2 separate regions of the Homo sapiens genome follow, and region 2 is linked to region 1. Evidence: promoter capture Hi-C in human tissues and cell types (Jung and others, 2019). All regions are on one chromosome and are shown on one strand. Each heading gives the region's core, a stretch centred on a gene start or on the middle of the fragment in contact. The rest is flanking DNA. Distances are from core to core; before and after follow the strand shown.

What was found. The method cuts DNA at HindIII sites, captures the fragments that hold promoters and counts their contacts. A contact is called where the count stands out against the background at its distance.
Region 2: a fragment that was not itself captured here is called in contact with the fragment with the promoter of TMEM14C in region 1 in 1 of the 25 tissues and cell types used here (IMR-90 fibroblasts).

The regions. Positions count from the first base shown.
Region 1 is chr6:10,717,780-10,724,764 of GRCh38, forward strand. It overlaps TMEM14C (transmembrane protein 14C), which reads left to right and starts at 5,291. Exons shown (of 6, transcript NM_016462.4): 1 at 5,291-5,462; 2 at 6,791-6,854. The coding sequence starts at 6,835. RefSeq lists silencers at 2,348-2,507, 2,838-2,977, 5,222-5,351 and an enhancer at 5,291-6,187. The HindIII fragment of the contact is 20,984 bases long and covers 1-6,985 here.
Region 2 is chr6:10,439,434-10,446,418 of GRCh38, forward strand. All of the region lies in intron 1 of MIR5689HG (MIR5689 host gene), which reads left to right. It overlaps MIR5689 (microRNA 5689), which reads left to right and starts at 284; the gene lies at 284-361. RefSeq lists enhancers at 1,302-1,802, 1,803-2,303. The HindIII fragment of the contact is 3,588 bases long and covers 2,562-6,149 here.

The DNA.
Region 1 (6,985 bases), core at 4,041-6,540:
GGGTGTGCCACCACGCCTGGCTAATTTTTGTATTTCAGACCTTACTTTAAATCATAGCTGTACCACTGACAAAGACCGTAGATAATACAATTCTCTGAGGTTGAGTTTCTTCAAGTATAAGGTGAGGGGGAGAGTGCGGGAATCATGGTGGATGATCCTAATTAAGGTTTGAGGCTTGCGCCTGCATAGGGAAGAATGAGCCCCTAAAGCCGTTCCTGCAGGTTAAGACAAGTCTCCCTATTAATTGTTCAGGAAGGTCTTCAATTAAATTGAAGGTCTGGCATACTGCAATTCCTGCAAGTTCTTAGTCATTATCAGCGTTGGCTGGTTAGAATCAGCTGTGATAAACAAGGGCTTCAATTTTGCTATCTGCAAGGTAGGTGCTGCCACAAGTGGAAAGTTTGTCTTTAAGAATATACGCCGCGACCGGGCATGGTGGCTCACACCTGTAATCCCGACACTTGTGGGAGGCCCAGGCAGGCAGATTGCTTGAGGCTGGGAGTGTGGGACCAGCCTGGCCAACATGGTGAACCACTGTCTCTACTAAAAACACAAAAAATAGCCAGGCATGGTGCCACACATCTGTAATCTCAGCCGCTCAGGAGGCTGAGCAGGAAAATCACTTGAACCTGAGAGGCAAAGGTTGCAGTGAGCTGAGATCATGCCACTGCACTCCAGCCTGGGCAACTGTTAGAAATGCTTGTTCCCCAGCACCACAAAATAGCACTCAAACATAAATTTAATTCTCTCAGCAAGGCCATTTTCACTTCCTGCAGAAAGGGTGCTTCTCACAGATGGAACAACGGCAATAGCACACTTGAACAAAGGAAAAGCAGAGGGTTTACACATTTGGGTCCTCCTTACTGCTGTGTCCTGCATGCATTGACTGGTGCTGGACCTCGGTCTTAAATTTCCAATTTGCTAACAACCTGAAACTTTCCTAAATAGTTAGGTGCAAGGGAGGATAAAGGAGACTAAGTTGCTTATGAAAGGTTTAAGGAAATAATAACATTTCCAAATAAGGAAGGGGCATAAAATATGAGCTGAGACTTGCTTGGGCCTGTCCAGACATGCCTGAATAAGCCAAAGCAACTAACTGGGCTAAATCGTAAGAACTAACAGTTGATAGCAGGCTTTGGAGTAAGATGTGATTATTCCTGGTGTCTATTTTTAAACCAAGACAAGGTTTGAAGAGAAGCTTTTCTACTTTCTACAACAGCAAAACTCCATCTCAAAAAAAAAAAAAAAAGCAAAAACCATGCTACAAAGGCCAGCAAAGCAGCTCATGCCTCTAATCCCAGCACTTTGGGAGACTGAGGTGGGCAGATGAGATTAAGAGTTTGAGACCAGCTGGGCCAACATGGTGAAACCCCATTGTGTCTGGACTTTGTGGGTTCGTCTTGCTGACTTCAAGAATAAAGCCACAGACCCTCATGATTGAATGTTACAACTGTTAAAGATGGTGGGTCCAAAGTTTGTTCCTTCCGACATTCAGACATTATCTAGTTTCTTCCTACTGGTGGGTTCACGGTCTCACTGATTTCAGGAATGAAGCTGCAGGCCTTTGCAGTGAGTGTTACACCTCTTAGAGGTGGCACATCTGCAGTTACTTGTTCTTTCTGGTGGGTTTGTGCTCTCTGCTAGCCTCAGCAATAAAACCACCAACCTCTGCAGTCAGTGCTACAGTTCATAAAGGTGGCACATCCAGTTTTTCATCTGCTTTCAGTGGGTTTGTGGTCTCACTAGCTTCAGAAGCAAAACTGTAGCCTTATCACGGTGAGTATTAAAACTCATAAACATTGCACGGATCTAAAGAACTATCAGCACCAACATTTATTGCAAAAAGCAAAAGAACAAAGCTCTGTCAGCCCAAGAAAACACCCAAGCACGTTTCCCCTACTGGCTGTGGGTGGCCAGTTTTTATTCCCTAATCTGGCCACACCCACATCCAGCTGATTGGTCCATTTTACAGAGTGCCGATTGGTGCATTTGCAAACCTTTAGCTAGACACAGAGTGCTGATTGGTGCGTTTACAATCCTTTGGCTAGATACAAAAGTTCTCCAAGTCCTGACCAGATTAGCTAGACACAGAGCGCTGATTGGTGCGTTTACAAACCTTTAGCTAGACAAAAAACTGCTGACTGGTGCATTTACAATCCTTTAGCTAGACACAAAAGTTTTCCAAGTCCCCACCCGTCCCAGAAGCCCAGCGGGCTTCACCTCTCGCTGGGAGTTGGGTGGGACTTTTTGGCAACTAGCCTGGGCACTCCGGGAGCTCCTCCCACACAACCAAGAGGAAAAGAGGAGGAGAGAGACAGAGACCCGCCATCGTGGCCAACGACCCCGCCAAGAGGGAACGGCGGTCCACGCACTGGACCCAGCCTCCGATCAAGCCCAGCAGGGGCCGGCAGGTCGCGCCAAGTGCGGGGCCCACCGAGCCTGCGCCCACCTGGAACCCGGGGCAGCGCAGCCCCAGTCCCCGCCTGCGCCTCTCCCTCCACGCCTCCCCACGAGCAGATGGAGCCGGCTCCGGTCTCGGCCAGCCCCAGGGAGGGCCCCGCACAGCGCAGCGGCGGGCTGAAGGGCTCCTCGAGCCTGGCCGATGCTAAGGAGGCACCGAGAGCAAGCGAAGGCTGCTAGTGAGAGGTGACGACGTGCTGGCAGTCCTCAGAGCCCTCGCTCTCGGCGCCTCCTCTTCCTGGGCTCCCACTTTGGAGGCACTTGAGCCCTTTAGCCCACCGCTGCACTGTGGGAACCCCTTTCTGGGCTGGCCAAGGCCAGAGCTGGCTCCCTCAGCTTGCAGGGAGGTGTGGAGGAAGAGGCGCGAGCGGAAACCAGGGCTGCGCGCGGCGCTTCCGCGCCAGTTGGAGTTCCGGGTGGGCGTGGGCTTGGCGGGCCCCGCACTCGGAGCAGCCGGCCGGCCGGCCCTGGGCAATGAGGGGCTTGGCACCCAGGCCAGCGGCTGCAGAGGGTGTACTGGGTCCCCCAGCAGTGCCAGCCCACCGGCGCTGCGTTGGATTTCTCGCGGGGCCTTAGCTGCCTTCCGACGGGGCAGGGCTCGGAACCTGCAGCCCGCCATGCCTGAGCCTCCCACCACCTCCGTGGGCTCCTGTAGGGCCCGAGCCTCCCTGATGAGCACCACCCCCTGCTCCACAGGGCCCAGTCCCATCAACCACCCAAGAGCTGAGAAGTGTGGGCGCAGGGCGCAGGACTGGAAGGCAGCTCCACCTGCAGCCCTGGTGTGGGATCCACTGGGTGAAGCCAGCTGGGTTAAGTCTGGTGGGGAGGTGGAGAACCTTTATGTTTAGCTCAGGGATTGTAAATACACCAATTGGCACTCTATATCTAGCTCAAGGTTTGTAAACACACCAATCAGCCCCCTGTGTCTGGCTCAGGGTTTGTGAATGCACCAATGGACACTGTATCTAGCTACTCTGGTGGGGACCGTGGAGAACCTTTATGTCTAGCTTAGGGATTGTAAATACACCAATCGGCACTCTGTATCTAGCTCAAGGTTTGTAAACACACCAGTCAGCACCGTGTGTCTAGCTCAGGGTTTGTGAATGCACCAATCCACACTCTGTATCTAGCTACTCTGGCAGGACCTTGGAGAACCTTTGTGTGGACACTCTATAGCTAATCTGGTGGGGACGTGGAGAACTTTTGTATCTAGCTCAGGGATTGTAAACGCACCAATCAGCACCCTGTCAAAACAGACCACTCGGCTCTACCAATCAGCAGGATGTGGGTGGGGCCAGATAAGAGAATAAAAGCAGGCTGCCCAAGCCAGTAGTTGTAACGCACTTGGGTTTTCTTCTATGTGGAGGAGGCTTTGTTCTTTCTCTTTTTCTTTTTGCAACAAATATTGCTGTTGCTCGGTGCTTAGGTCCTGTGTTGTCTTTACAAGTGGTAACGCTCACTGCGAAGATTTGCAGTTTTGCTCCCAAAGCTACGAAGACCACGATCCCACCGGAAAGAACAAACATATTCCAGACGCACTGCCTTAAGAGCTTTAACATTCGTTATAGAAGTCTGTAGCTTTGCTCCTTGAGCCAGTCCAAAGCTAGGGAGACCACGATCCCACCGGGAAGAACAAACAATTCCAGACACACTGCCTTAAGAGCTTTAACATCCACCACAGAGGTCTGTAGCTTTGCTCGTTGAGCCAGTGAGACAGCAAACCCACCAGCAGAAAAACTCCCTGAATACTTCTAAACATCGGAAGAAAAACTCTAGAGACACTGCTTTTAAGAACTAACACTCATCGCGAGGGTCTGCAGCTTTCTCAAGTCAGACCAAGAAGCCATCAATTTTGAACACACTGGCACGTTGTGATCTCTCACTATCTCCACTAAAAATAACAAAAATTAGCCTGGCAGCCAGGGGTGGTGGTACAGGCCTATAATCCCAGCTACTCAGGCAGCTGAGGCAGGAGAATCAGTTGAACATGGGAGTCAGAGGTAGTGGTGAGACAAGATCATACGCTGCACTCCAGCCTGGGCAATAGAGTGAGACTCCACATAAAAAAAAAAAAAACTTGGCTGGAATTCGCTTTATTCACTGACAATTATATTGGTCAGATTTGTGTATGTTGATACTTGTAGGGGATGGAGAGGGAGAAGTCAACGATGACAGCAAATTTTAGTGTAGAGCAACTAAGAGAATGGTGGTGCAGGAAACGGAATAGGAGTGACTCCAAGTGGGAATGGAGATAATATGCTGTGGATATTTTGGGTCCACAGAGCTGGGTAAAAATCAGGTTTAACTTACTCCCCATCCCCCTTTAAGATGCTTCTCAAGCAGCCTCACTCCCTAAAACAAACGGATATTTGGCTTTGAGCCACATTATTCTGCAGCCCCCGTATTTTCTTCCAGGCAGGCCCTTCCTGGTGTAGACAAGATCGGGCTTGAGTGACACTCCTCCCTGATGGCCTGCATCTGGTTTATACCCTGTAACTTGTTCCTCTATTAATGGGGTCCTTCAAAATCCAGCCTCAGATTCCCTGGTCCCGCAGCGGTGGCCTCACCTCTGGCGTGGCCGAGCTCACGTGGTCCGGCTTGTGCAAGTCCCAGGTCCAACTCCGGGTCTCCTGCTTTTGGCCACTCAGGATTGGACCTGGGACTGATACTGGTCGGCCCTGCAGGCGCTGCGGACAGGGGAAGCACAGAGATTCCCCGCCGCGTTCCCTGGACTCAGGAGCTCGCCGCGATGCCCCGCCCCACTCTCCACCCGCTGAATGCAGGGCGCATGCTGCTACTTGGCGGCTCAAGCCCCGCCCGCACCGTCCCCATTCTCTGACCGCCCCTCTCCCGGTACACTGCGCAGGCACAACAGAGCCGCTCCCCTCTCCTCGCCCCGCCACCGGGACGGAGAGCGCCCGCCGCTGCATTTCCGGCGACACCTCGCAGTCATTCCTGCGGCTTGCGCGCCCTTGTAGACAGCCGGGGCCTTCGTGAGACCGGTGCGAGTATTTGGGGATTATTCTTATTTTCTGCCACTTTTAACTTTTAGGGATTATTTAGGAGTTTCACGGCCGTCTGCTTTTCGTCCCCCCGATTCAGCGGGCCTTCAGGCCGTGTGGTCGGTGCTTTTCTCGTTGGGTATTTTCTGCTTTTAAAAGAAGTTGTGGATGCGCGGAGCCCCTGGGCTCCTGAGGCAAAGGCTTACCCATGTAGCATAGTGTTGCCTCGTTTCTTGGTGATTTTCTTGCTCCATCTCTTTAAAAGCCTCCCTTACTCGGTGCCGTCTCGAGTTAAGAACTGTGGGCAAGATCCCAAGCCCGCTGCCCTTCCCTGTTTTATGGAAACTTAATTCTTTTTTTTTTTTTTTTTGTCCTTGAGGGAGGGACTTGCTCTGTCGCCCATGCTTGAGTGCAGTTGCCTGAATATGTCTCATTGCAGCCTCTGCCTCCTGGGCTCAAGCCATCCTCCCACTTCAGCCTCCCAAGTAGCTGGGATTTACAGTCGCATATCACCATGCGCGATTAATTTTTTTATATTTTTTAGTAGACAATGGGTTTCACTATGTTGGCCAGGCTGGTCTTGAACTCCTAACCCCAGGTGATCCGCCCGCCTCGGCCTCCTAAAGTACTGGGATGACAGGCGTCAGCCACTGCGCTTGGCCTAATTCTTTAAACAGAATAAACGGGGTATGCATTGCTTTCATCTTTTGGCTCACTGGACACAGGATACTTTCTGTAAGAAAATAGAAGCTGTTTTTCCAAGGGTGTAGTGTCACATGTGAATATGACCACTGTTTCCGTATATTTTATCCTCTCCTACTACTGCCCTCCTAACAAGAACTGTGAGTTGGACGCAGAAGTTTCTAAAAAAGTTGAGCTTTGAAATTGGCTGTTGCAGCAGGGATGAAAAGCAACACCCCTACCTCCCCTCAAAAGAGACATTAAAGTAGTTGGATTAAGGGCACGGGAGTATTTGCTTTTGAATTTAGTGATAACATGGGTAGCTGATGAAATGACTAACACATTCCCTGATTTTAGAGCTGGTCAGTGGATCTTGCTGAGTTTCCCGTGGGCCTATGTGATTAAAACTGAGGTTTTCATGACAATGGTCAGCATCTGTTCAGGGTTTACTAGGTGCTAAGCACCTTTACATGTGACATCCATTGAATGCTCACTACAGCCCCAGGAAATCGGTACCAGTGTTATCCTCATGGTACAGTGAAGAATACTGAGACTTAGGTTGCGTAGCTTGCAGGTTGGACACACTTCTTTCTGACTGCTGGAGAGCTGTGCTTTTAACTACCTCTGATCCAGCTTGTTTTCTGCAGGTGCAGGCCTGGGGTAGTCTCCTGTCTGGACAGAGAAGAGAAAAATGCAGGACACTGGCTCAGTGTGAGTGCAGTAAATGGGTATGGAGTAGCCAGGAGCTTCTGGAAACCAGAGTTCCTTTCCTTAGCTGAAAAGAACCTTAAGAGTAGACTGCCTGGGATGGCATGGGGGATGGGAGGATCACTGGACCTGTG
Region 2 (6,985 bases), core at 3,106-5,605, 280 kb before region 1:
ATAAAGTGGAGGGCAGTTAAAATCCCTCTAGTGGAAGAAAAGACCTGGACAATATGAGCTGTGTTCATTATGACCACTGGGAAGATGAGTTTCACCCTTCACATGACTATATGGTGAGAACATGTTTCTCAGCTGAGACAAGATTTCAGGAAAGTTTGCAAGAACCGAGAGAAAATGGAAGAAAATGAAATATTTGTTCTTCAGAGTCACCAGTTTTATTATATGCCTGGACTCTGTCACTTATGTCAATAAATTTACAAATGCAAAATACACATTTAATTCCAGCGTGGTAGCATACACCTGTAGTCCTAGATACTCAGGAGGGTGAGTATCTAGGACTACAGGTGTGTGCTACCACGCTTGAACTCAGGAGTTCAAGGCCAGCCTGGACAACACAGGGAGACCCCCTCTCTAAATGTATATACACACATACACACACACACACACACACACACACATTCAAACATTGGAATCAGATGTCCTGGACAAAATGCTCAAATCAGCTGAACACTTTGGAATGCTTAACTTTTCTTTTTTTTAGATGTTTATTTATTTATTTATTTTGTTTTTTATTTTATTATTATTATACTTTAAGTTTTAGGGTACATGTGCGCAATGTGCAGGTTTGTTACATATGTATACATGTGCCATGTTGGTGTGCTGCACCCATTAACTCGTCATTTAGCATTAGGTATATCTCCAAATGCTATCCCTCCCCCCTCCCCCCACCCCACAACAGTCCCCGGAGTGTGATGTTCCCCTTCCTGTGTCCATGTGTTCTCATTGTTCAATTCCCACCTATGAGTGAGAACATGCGGTGTTTGGTTTTTTGTCCTTGTGATAGTTTGCTGAGGATGATGGTTTCCAGTTTCATCCATGTCCCTACAAAGGACATGAACTCATCATTTTTTATGGCTGCATAGTATTCCATGGTGTATATGTGCCACATTTTCTTAATCCAGTCTATCATTGTTGGACATTTGGGTTGGTTCCAAGTCTTTGCTATTGTGAATAGTGCCGCAATAAACCTACGTGTGCATGTGTCTTTATAGCAGCATGATTTATAATCCTTTGGGTATATACCCAGTAATGGGATGGCTGGGTCAAATGGTATTTGTAGTTCTAGATCCCTGAGGAATCGCCACACTGACTTCCACAATGGTTGAACTAGTTTACGGTCCCACCAACAGTGTAAAAGTGTTCCTATTTCTCCACATCCTCTCCAGCACCTGTTGTTTCCTGACTTTTTAATGATCACCATTCTAACTGGTGTGAGATGGTATCTCATTGTGGTTTTGATTTGCATTTCTCTGATGGCCAGTGATGATGAGCATTTTTTCATGTGTTTTTTGGCTGCATAAATGTCTTCTTTTGAGAAGTGTCTGTTCATATCCTTCGCCCACTTTTTGATGGGGTTGTTTATTTTTTTCTTGTAAATTTGTTTGAGTTCATTGTAGATTCTGGATATTAGCCCTTTGTCAGATGAGTAGGTTGCAAAAATTTTCTCCCATTTCGTAGGTTGCTTGTTCACTCTGATGGTAGTTTCTTTTGCTGGAATGCTTAACTTTTCTTTCCTGCAAGAGGAAGACTGGGAGATTGAGAGGTGTGCCCAGGGTGTCAGCTCAGTGCCTGGTAGAGGCAGGTAACATGAGCTTTGAGCCCTGGCCTGTGGATTGTGTTGTGCTTGGACTGGCCTGTTACGCCATCTGCTTGCTTCTGCCTGAAATTCCTGTAACACAAGATAAAACCTCTCATTCTGCAATTTACCAATAAACCTTATAAAATCTGAGGCTAAGCCTTGTGAAATGGCAAACCCTAGAAAGCCAGAGAGCTGGCATGCGGTAGTTCAGCAGTGGCTGCAGGAAATAGAAGGAAAGGGAGTGAGGAGACAGGGTGCAAGCTGGAATGTGATCACAGGGGAGGGGGATCTCTGGACTATGGGGGAATGACGGGCAGCTTGAGGCCCTGAGATGAAAGACACTCCCTTTAAGAAAAACGTCTGTGACTCAGAGCCACAAGGCGTGTCAGGAGAAAGTTCTGATGAAACTGCATTCCATTCCTGGAGGAATACGCATTGCCATTGAAGTACAAACTCTAAAATGATGTAGGATTAATAATTAAGGCAACACTAGTAGTGGATGGTGGCCCAGAGAGCTTTCCCTAGCTTTGTTAATTTTCTTCTCTCCACAGCTTACGTAAGCAAATATTCACCCAAAGAGTAGAGAATGTTGAGACATTTAGCATTATGTATTAGTCTGTTCTCACAGTGCTATAAAAAAAAAATACCTGAGACTGGGTAATATATGAAGAGAAGTTTAATTGACTCAGTTCCGTAGACTGTACAGGAAGCACAGCTGAGGAGGCCTCAGGACACTTGCAGTCACGGCATGGGGCAAAGGGGAAGCAAGCACATCTTCACATGGCAACAGGAGAGAGAGCAAAGGGGGAAGCGCTACACACTTTTAAGCCACCAGATCTCATGAGAACTCACTCACTATCATGAGGACAGCAAGGGGGAAATTCTCCCCCATGAGCCAATCACCTCCCACCAGGTCCCTCCCCCAACATTAGGAATTACAATTTGCATGAGATTTGTGTGGCCACACGGAGCCAAACCATATCACATTGGTCAACCTATATAGTAATGTTTTTCTTAATCTAAATGTATACTAAGTTAGTGTTTTATCGATTTAAAAATACATCTTGAAAAGGATTTTGCAATTTACTTTTTTTTTTTTTTTGTGAGACAGAGTCTCACTCTTGTCCCCCAGGCTGGAGTGTAGTAGCGTGATCTTGGCTCGCTGCAATCTCTGCCTCCCAGGTTCAAGCAATTCTCCTGCCTCAGCCTCCTGAGTAGCTTGGATTACAGGCGCCTGCCACTACTCCCGGCTAATTTTTTGGTATTTTTAGTAGAGACAGGGTTTCACCATGTTGGCCAGGCTGGTTTCAAACTCCTGACCTCAAGTGATCCGCCCACCTCGGCTTCCCAAAGTGCTAGGATTACAGACGTGAGCCACCATGCCCAGCCCACAATTTCTTTTAAAACTAAACATATACAGTTGTCCATCAGTATCTGCAGGGGACTGGTTCCAGGTCTCCCTGCAAGTACCAAAATCACAGATGCTCAGGAATCTGATATAAAGCAGGGTAGTACTTGCATATAACCCACACACATCCTCCTGTATACTTTAAATCATCTCTAGATTACTTATAATACCTAGTACAAGGTGAAGACTATGTAAACAGTTGTTATACTGTATTTAAAAAAATAATTTCCACTTTCATTTTAGATTCAGGTGGTACATATGCAGGTTTGTTATATAAGTGTATTGCATGATGCTGAGGTTTGGAGTTCAATTGATCCCATCACTCAGATAGTGAGCATAATTATACTGTATACAGTTTAGGAAATAATAACAAGAAAAAAGTCTATACATATTCCATACAGACATGATCATCCTTTCCTCCCACCCCTTGATTTTTTATTGAATTCATGAATATTTGCTGAGTCCATGAATGTGGAACCCACGGATAGGGAAGGCTGACTGCACCTACATTATGACCTGGCAATTCCACACCTAGGTTACTCACCCGGGAGAAATAAAAGCATATGTCCTCAAAGAGGCTTGTTCAAAAATGTCCATAGCTTTATTCATAAATAACTGAAAGCTGAAAACAACCAATAGGAGAATGAATAAACTAACTGTGGTAAATTCAGACAATGAAATACTACACAATAAAAAAGGGAGGAACCGGCTGGGCGCGGTGGCTCACACCTGTAATCCCAGCACATTGGGAGGCCGAGGTGGGTGGATCACCTGGGGTCAAGAGTTCGAGACCAGCCTGGCCAACATGGTGAAACCCCATCTCTACTAAAAATACAAAAATAGTCAGGTGTGGTGGCACGCACCTCCAATCCCAGCTACTCGAAAGGCTGAGGCAGGAGAATCAGCTTGAATCCAGGAGGCAGAGGTTGCAGTGAGCTGAGATTGTGCCACTGCACTCCAGCCTGGGTGACTCTGTCTCAAAAAAAAAGGGGGGGTGGGGGGAGGAACCATTGATACATACAACATCATGATGAATTCCAAAAATGTTGTACTGAATGGAAGAAGCCTTACACAAGAAAGCACATACTGTTTATATATTTATCATCCTAGAACAAGCAAAACTAATCTATGGACTAATCTAAGGTGGGGGCAGGGGAATCCAGAGAAAGGGTTACCTTTGGGAGTTGGGCCATGGGGTTGGGGACCAGCTGTGCAGGGGAGCTTTCAGGGCAGTCTTAAGGTACTGGATCTCACCAGGGGTTTGCCTTGCTTGTATACATGGCCTTCCTTGCAACTTGCTGAATGGCACACTTATAAACTGTGCATTTTTTGTATTTAAATTTTACCTCAAAAGAAGAAGAAATCAACCAACATTGAACTCTAATAAAAGATATGCATGTTGGAACATATGGGGAGAAGTGTATTGCTGACTGCAACATACTTAGAAATGCATTAAAAAGACAAGATGCTTTGGGAGGCCAAGGCGGGTGGATCACCTGAGGTCAGAAGTTCAATACCAGGCTGGCCAACATGATGAGACCCCGTCTCTACTAAAAATACAAAAATTAGCCGGGCATGGTGGTGCACACCTGTAATCCCAGCTACTCAAAAGGCTGAGGCAGGAGAGTCACTTGAGCCCGGGAGGCAGAGGTTGCAGTGAGCCGAGATCATGCCACTGCACTCCAGCCTGGGCAACAGAGTGAGACTCCATCTCAGAAAAAAAAAAAAAAAAGACAAGATAGATTGGTGGGTGGATAAACAGCTGGATAAATGGATAAATAGTAAATGAAGTACAGAAGAATGTTTATTGTTGAATCTAGCTGGTGAGCATATGAGTGTTCACCGTACAGTTTCTTCAATTCTGAGCTATGCTTAAAAGGTTTTATAATAAAATGTTGAAAAAAATTGATCTCGAATTAGAATTAGGAGTTCTAACAAAGAGCTTCTGCTATAACTTACATATTTCTGTAGGAGGTATTCCCATGAAGTTGGGGCAGTGGGAAGGCAGAGAAGTTGCAAGGAGAAAAATCTGTCAGTAATGGAAGGCTCTTATATTGCATTCGTTTCCCAAACACTGGCATATCATAGAGCTTCAATAAAAGCTTTTTGAATGAATGAAATGAATAAGACATTCCTCAACCAATGACTGCAGAAACTATAAAGGAATGATTCTGACATGAATATTACAGAAAACTCCGTGAGGGTATATACTTAGGCCAAAGAATAAACAAGTGTCTGAAATTATCAGACTTTAATACTCATTCCAGTGAATGTTTCTAAAGGACCAAAGGGATGAAAAAGAGAAATTTAAAGTCATATCTAAGACTAGCTTTTTGACTTGACACGTGACTCAGCCACTTTTGTATTACCACTGCCATCTTTGAATTAACACTGGAGAAGTATCTAGAACAATTGTGTTTTTCTCAGAGGTTGGAGGAAACGAGCATGACTCTTCCCCAAAATGCATTACTTCTCAAAAACTTACAGGGCTATTCTCTTTTATAGGTTTTTGTTTCTGTTTTTGTTTTTGAGACGGAGTCTCGCCCTGTCGCCCAGGCTGGAGTGCAGTGGCGCCATCTCGGTTCACTGCCACCTCCGCCTCTCGGGTTCAAGTGATTCTTCTGCCTCAGCGTCCCGAGTAACTGGGACTACGGGCCCAGCTAATCTTTTTTGTAGTTTCTGAAAATTTCTTTCACCTGTAGTACATGCAGACCCTGTCTCCATTTATTTTCCTTGGCCTGTTCTTTTTTTTGACAATCTCACTCCATTGCCCAGGCTGGAGTGCAGTAGCATGAACTTGGCTCACTGCAACCTCCACTTCCCAGGTTCAAGAGATTCTCGTGACTCAGCCACCTGAGTAGCTGGGACTACAAGTGTGCGCCACCATGCCTGGCTAACTTTTGTATTTTTAGTAGAGATGGGGTTTCACCATATTGACCAGGCTGGTCTCGAACTCCTGACCTCGTGATCCACCCACCTCGGCCTCCCAAAGTGCTGGGATTACAGGCATGAGCCACCACACCCGGCCTCTTTTATAGGTTTCTATGTAAGTAACATAAAGACTCTGGCAAGCAGTTAAAGCTCTTTAATTGTTCACCATTCTGGGCACTTAGGGTTGTGTTCTTTCTTGGTTTTGGAATAGCTTATGCTTACCTCTTTAATAACAGAGTAGAATTCTACTGTATAAGAGATCCTGGGCCGGGCGCAGTGGCTCACACCTGTAATCCCAGCACTTTGGGAGGCCAAGATGGGTGGATCATGAGGTCAGGAGTTCAAGACCAGCCTGCTCAATATGGTGAAACCCCATCTCTACTAAAAATACAAAAAGTTAGCCAGGCATGGTGGTGCATGCCTGTAATCCCAGCTACTTGGGAGGCTGAGGCAGGAGAATCGCTTGAACCTGGGAGGCAGAGGTTTCAGTGAGCCAAGATCGTGCCATTGCTCTCTAGCCGGGAGACAAGAGTGAAACTCTGTCTCAAAAGAAAAACAGAGATCCTGGGGGACAAGGGTGACACCCTTTACCAGGACAAGAGGCGTATTCAGGGACAGTGGGCTGGGGTAACTCAGAAAATCAAGATGAAATTTTTTTCCCCAGAAAAATCTCAAATTTTTCTTTGTTTTAACTGATTTCCGGTTTGACACTCCACAAGCAAAGTTAATTTTTAGGAACTTCTTAAGTTTAAGGACTATGTATTAGCACTGACCATGTGTCCCGCATTTTTGATGTATCGAGAAACAAGAGGGGCTCAGCTGTTTCTTGTCTGTCTTCACAGTCAAGGCCACATACTTTTTCCTGCCTTTTTAAAAAAGTAAGCTCAATCAGAAAAGCTGAAAAATAGCACACAAACAGCCAAATACCCCTCACATGGATTTAACAACTGTTATTATTTCATCATGTTTGCTTATCTCTTGATAGATAGGTAGGTAGATAAATAGAC